Regions from separate parts of the Homo sapiens genome. Here region 2 is linked to region 1. The links are contacts of gene promoters, found by promoter capture Hi-C in blood cells and fetal thymus (Javierre and others, 2016). All regions are on one chromosome and are shown on one strand. Each heading gives the region's core, a stretch centred on a gene start or on the middle of the fragment in contact. The rest is flanking DNA. Distances are from core to core; before and after follow the strand shown. Region 1 holds the start of FOXB1 (forkhead box B1). Region 2 has its middle 120 kb from the start of FOXB1.

Region 1 (2,779 bases), core at 156-2,655:
GCGTGGCACAGCGGCTTCAACGGCACGCCGTAGGCGCTGTAGTCGCCACTCGCCATGGAGATGGGGGTGGCCGAGTCGATCATGCCGGCGGAGCCATACACGTGTGGCCAGCCGGTGCCCAGCGAGCTGCCCATGGTAGTCAACTGGTTGGGGAGCGGGTAGGCAGCGGGCACCGGCTGCATGGCGGAGAAGGCCAGCCCCCCAGGCATCTTGTATTCCCGCGCGATGATGTTCTCGATGGCGAAGGGGTGCTTGAAGCCCGAGGGCTGCGCCACGCCGCCCAAGTTGTAGGCGGCGGCGGGCATCTGTGGCAGGTGCGTGCCCGAGGCCGCCAGCGCGCTGAGCCGCAGCTTGGCCTGCTGCTGCAGGTACTGCGCCGCGTCGGCTGGCTTGCTGGGCGCCAGGTGGTCGGACTTAAGCACCTTGAAGCGCTTGCGGCGCCGCAGGAAGCTGCCGTTCTCGAACATGTCCCCGCAGCTTGGGTGCAGCGCCCAGAAGCTGCCCTTGCCTGGCTGGTCCGGCCGCCGCGGGATCTTGATGAAGCAGTCGTTGAAGGAGAGGTTGTGGCGCAGACTGTTCTGCCAGCGCTGCGTGTTCTCCCTGTAGTAGGGGAAGCGGTCCATGATGAACTTGTAGATCTCGCTCAGCGGCAGCATCTTCTCGGGAGAGCTCTGGATGGCCATAGCGGTCAGCGAGATGTACGAGTAGGGCGGCTTCTGGTCGCTGTACGTGTTGCGGCCGGGCCGAGGCATCTTCTTCCTCGCCCTCTTCTTGCTCTGGGTCCGCGCGGGCCGGCGGACTGCTCGGATCTGGGAAGGGGGTGGGTAATAGGGAAAGGTAGCATGGATGCACAGAGACACCGGCGGGGTCAGCCAGACCGAGTAACAGACTTCGGGGGTCGGGGGTGGGGCCTGCGGCGCTCGATCAGCCAGCGCCCGGACTCTTTCGCCAGCAACTTTGCGGGCTTAGTGGGCGCGGGAGGGGAAGCCGGCGAACGGCGCGAGGATAGCCGGGAAGTAAGTCGGTACTGGGGCCAGAATAGGGGGCAGGGACGGAACAGAGAGCTGCTCACCTTAAAGTTGCTTCAAGTTGCGCGTCCGCATCCGGGAGGACGCCGCTGCGCGCCGCTTCTCTCTCGGCGCGCACTCGACGCGCACTCCGCGCGCAGCGTCCGGGTCCGGTTGGACTCGGCGCGAACCTGGGCTCTTGAGCTCAGCCCCGCAGCGTCCCGTGCCGCCCGGTCCGCGACGCTCCTGGAGCGTCCTGCGGGCGGCCGAGCTCGGCTGCGGAGTCCCGGCGCGGATGGTGGCAGCGACGTGTTAGGGCTCCGGAGGGCGCTGCTGTGGGCTCCGCGTCTCCGCTGAGCTAGGTGGCTGCCTCCATGTCCTCCCTCGAACCATCTGATAGTTTTAAGCGGTGACAGGAGCAGAAAAGACCCCTGTAGCGGCGCTTCATTAATGTGCCACTTCTTAGCTATCATATGACAATCGCCTTGGGAGGAGGAGGAAGAGGAGGGGGAGCGGGGGCTGCAGAGGGAGGGGACTGAGCGAGAAGGGAGAGCCCGGCCAGCTCTGGTTTCTTTCACACCTATTTACATGGACACCTTGGCCAATAGGAATCACTTCCAGCTCAAGACTGGGCGAGGGGGAAGAGCCTCGGCCACTGGGCAGGCAGCTGGACGCGCCGGCCGGTGTGCGCCGTGTGAAGGTATGAGGAAGCGGCCGCCGCGGAAGAGGGAGCCAGGCGACCACTCACGTTCACAGATGGAGCAGCCGCGCGGATGATGTTTGACATGGAAATTGCTTGGCTGGGGTATTCTGTTTCCTCTGCGTTGTATCCGGTTTGTATCGTTAGGTAACTTTAGGCACGGCTTTCCCCTGAAGCCGACCCTTTTCCTGCGCTTAGCACTACCCGGGGTTGGTTGCATGGGTTATAATAATGAAAACACACCCTTGCCCCCCAGTCCCCGGAGAGTTAGGTCGAAATTTGACTTGACTTTCCTATGCAGCTGCTTCAGCTTTGTATAGTTAGTGTGTAGCTTTGAAAAAGTGATGGGGTTTACAAATACTTTCAAAATGTGATTGGACATCCCCATGTAAGAACCCATTTTGAATGTAACTGTATTGACCAAATTTTTAAAAATTAAAATAGTGTATCTGGGCGAAGAGTCCAGGTATTTGCTTTAAAAGTCCTCCGGGAATTTGGTTGGACACAGGATGGAGGCTCAGGAGCTGTTGGGGCAAATGTTGTGCGGACCTGGGGAGGGCCTGAGTTTGTTTGACACAGTTTATCACCAGGTAAGCCTCAGGGGCTCTCGCTTTTCCCAGGTGGTTTGAAACTTTAGGACTCAGGCACATCCTGGAAGTTTTCATTTTACACCCGGAACTCCCCTTCCCAGCCCTCCCACCCCCCCAACCTCCCACCCCCCATCCCCCAACTGCCGCTTTTTTTGGTATGGAGAACTTATTTAGGATTTAGAGTGTAGCAAAAGCCGCCTGCGATCCCACTAAGACAGCAGTATCTTCTACAACTTGGGGAAAGAACCATAGAGTTTTCCTTCTTGGGGAGCGGGGAATGTGCCTTGGGTCACTCCGCCTGGTGCGAGCAGCAGGCTCCCTTCGGTTCGGATTCGCCTTGGAAGGGTTAAATGAATCATTATTATTATTATCATTATCCTCATCGTCGTCGCTGCCGTCATCATCATCATCATCAAATTGCTATGAAATAAATAGTGAGTCGACCCCGCCTGCATGCACGCACTCTATAAGTACACACCAGG
Region 2 (2,710 bases), core at 168-2,667, 120 kb before region 1:
TGACATCTTTTTGGCACTTACCTTGGGCATTTTCTTATTTATTATCTCACTTAACAACAACAGTATGAAATAGGTACTATCGTTTATTTGGTGTTAAGAAGAGGAAACCGGGCCAAAGAAAAGTTTTTCCCAACTCCAGTTTGGTTCCAAGTTCATGTTCTTAACACTGAACTCTACTGATGATCCCGAGTTCCTTTGTTTTGTACTTGTGACATTCCTGCAGGAGCAGTCACTCTTTTGTGACATGAGAAAGATGAGTTTGGGGCTCTGAAGTGCTTCTTAGCAAACCAGAGAAGCTTTGCAGGGCATGCTGCCAGTGAGCCAACTCTTGGGGGCTCATTTTTCTGGGCTCCTCATGCCAGGACAGAATGAAAGATTTCACTTAGATAATTACCTAGGAGGGGAAACCGTGTAAAAAGTCGTGGTGCTCAGAGATGATTAAAAAGCATGATTTAATAGAAGTTGCAGTTTCACTTTCACTCGAGGTTGAGGCATCTTAAAGGAGAGGGAAAAAACCATAGGGCAGAGTCAGGAGAGCGGGTTGGTCCTGTTTCGGTTCAGCTGTCTGGCTTAGGGCAAGCTCTGGGCTTCTCTGAGGCTTCATTTCTTCATGTATTAAATCAGGAGTGAGCCAGATAATCCCCAGCCTGTCTCGGCTTACAGTGTGAGATTTGTCTGTCTCTGCTGTAGCTGGGAAGTTACAGAAAGGGGGCACCCTCTCCTCGTCTTCCGCTGCTCCCTTCCCCCAACCCCTCATATTAGGAAACAACTTTCCAAATGACGTTTTTGAGAGGCCAGGTACAGACAAACTTATCTTTTAGTCTGGAGTGAAGTGCCACAAACCCAACAGCTGTTGTGGTCAGATGGGGTATACAAAAACAAACGTGCGCGCGCGCGCGCGCACACACACACACACACACACACACACACACACACACACACAAACACAGAAAACAAAAAAGGGTAGAGCCCACTGCATGGTCAATACAATTTTTTGGAAAAGATCTCTTGTTCTTAATCCTATTCTGATTTTCCCACTTTTGATAAAGTCGGTGGTCTAGAGAAACAAATCTCTGTTAGGAGAAAAACAGCTGTGTGGGTACACCAGGCAAGCCTAACTGAGCACAGCTGTGGGCTGGGCTGGCCTGGCCAGGGCCACCAGTTCACTTTCTCTGCCCTGGAAGCTGTCCATCCTCCATCAACAATTTGTCACCATGTCAGTTTTAAAATCCCAAGAGAACGACTATGTTGTTTTTATGCTGATCATTTATATTTACCCAGAAGTTTCTTTTAGGTTTAGCTGAAAGCCACCCTTCTCAAAAGTGCCTATAGTTACTCACAATTACTTGTGCAAAAAAAAAAAAAAAAAAAGGTAAAGGGGAAGTGGAGCCTGACAAAGATAATCCAGAAGTAATGTACACTGCTTTAGGAAATCTGTCATCTTCTGGAGGCAGACATGCCTGCCTACTGCCTAGTGTAGTACTTGGCACATACTGGGCACTCAAAAAAAACTATTCATGGAATGAGAGGATGGCTGGATGGATGGATGGATGGATGGATGGATGGATGGATAGACGGACGGATGGATGGACGGATGGATGGATGGATGGACCGACAGACGGACAGATGGATAGATAGATAGATAGATAGATAGATAGATAGACAGATAGATAGATAGATTGATAGGTAGGTAGGTGGATAGATAGATAGATAGATAGATAGATAGATAGACAGACAGACAGACAGACAGACATTCAATAGATGAGGTCACACAGCCCTAGAAGGCTAGGTCCTGTGTTAATAATGGGTAGCCAGCTGGAGGCAAACCTGGGACTGACAGGTCTGCCAATTTCACACACAGGGCTCATTCTACAATCTACTCCCTGCTTTCGTTTTTGTGTTTTTCATGTACAACTTAGTTCCTTAAGCACATGCAACTGTAAACCAATAACCCCTTAATGCTTTCTCATGTTCAAATGTGTGATCACATCTTACAATTTAGGGAGTACCCTGCACTAAGCAGGTTGGGTGCGATGGCTGCAACCACACAGCAGATGCTTCCCCTTCTGTGAGCAAATTTGGAGGTGTGCACAGGGTAAACTAGGCAGGAAGGCAAGAAGAGCTGTCTCTCTCCATCTCTCAAGTAGTCCAATAGCTGGATTCTTCTGGGTCAGTGCAGCGTTAACCAGAAGCCATGCTGCTAGCCCTCTCTGTGGCACCTTCTTAGAATTACTACTCAAATGCGGTGCAAAATGCTGTAACTGAGGGCTGTCAGCTTCTCCTAGATTGTTTAGAATGTGTTGTTTTCTCTTTTATTGATACATAATATTTTACATGTGTGTGGGGTACATGTGTTTGTTACATGCATAGAATGTGTAATGATCAAGCCAGGATATCTGGGTTATCCATCACCCTCAGTGTTTATCATTATTTTTGTGTTGGTATCATTTCAAGTTCTCTCATCTAGTTACTTTGAAATGTACCTAATATTCTTGCTAAGTGTAGTCACCCTAGTCTGCTATCAAACATTAAAGCTTATTTCTTCTAACTATTTTGTACCTATAACCAACCTCTCTCTGTCTCTCTTTTTTTTTTGAGACAGAGTCTCACTCTGTCACCCAGGCTGGCGGGCAGTGCCGTGATCTCAGTTCACTGCATCCTCCACCTCCCGTGTTCAAGCGATTCTCCTACCTCAGCTCCCTGAGTAGTT

The links. Contacts are between HindIII fragments. The CHiCAGO score rates a contact against its expected background, and 5 or more counts as called.
Region 2: a fragment that was not itself captured here is called in contact with the fragment with the promoter of FOXB1 in region 1 in 4 of 17 cell types (activated CD4 T cells, naive CD4 T cells, total CD4 T cells and 1 more); the score reaches 7.6 in activated CD4 T cells.

What each region holds. Positions count from the first base shown.
Region 1 is chr15:60,002,937-60,005,715 of GRCh38, reverse strand. FOXB1 (forkhead box B1) reads right to left here and starts at 1,405. Exons shown (of 2, transcript NM_012182.3): 1 at 1,073-1,405; 2 at 1-809. The coding sequence starts at 752. RefSeq lists an enhancer at 1,209-1,724. The HindIII fragment of the contact is 10,028 bases long and covers 1-2,779 here.
Region 2 is chr15:60,125,740-60,128,449 of GRCh38, reverse strand. No RefSeq gene overlaps it. Among named protein-coding and RNA genes, the nearest start is that of FOXB1, 120 kb to the right of the region's middle. RefSeq lists an enhancer at 382-571. The HindIII fragment of the contact is 2,238 bases long and covers 299-2,536 here.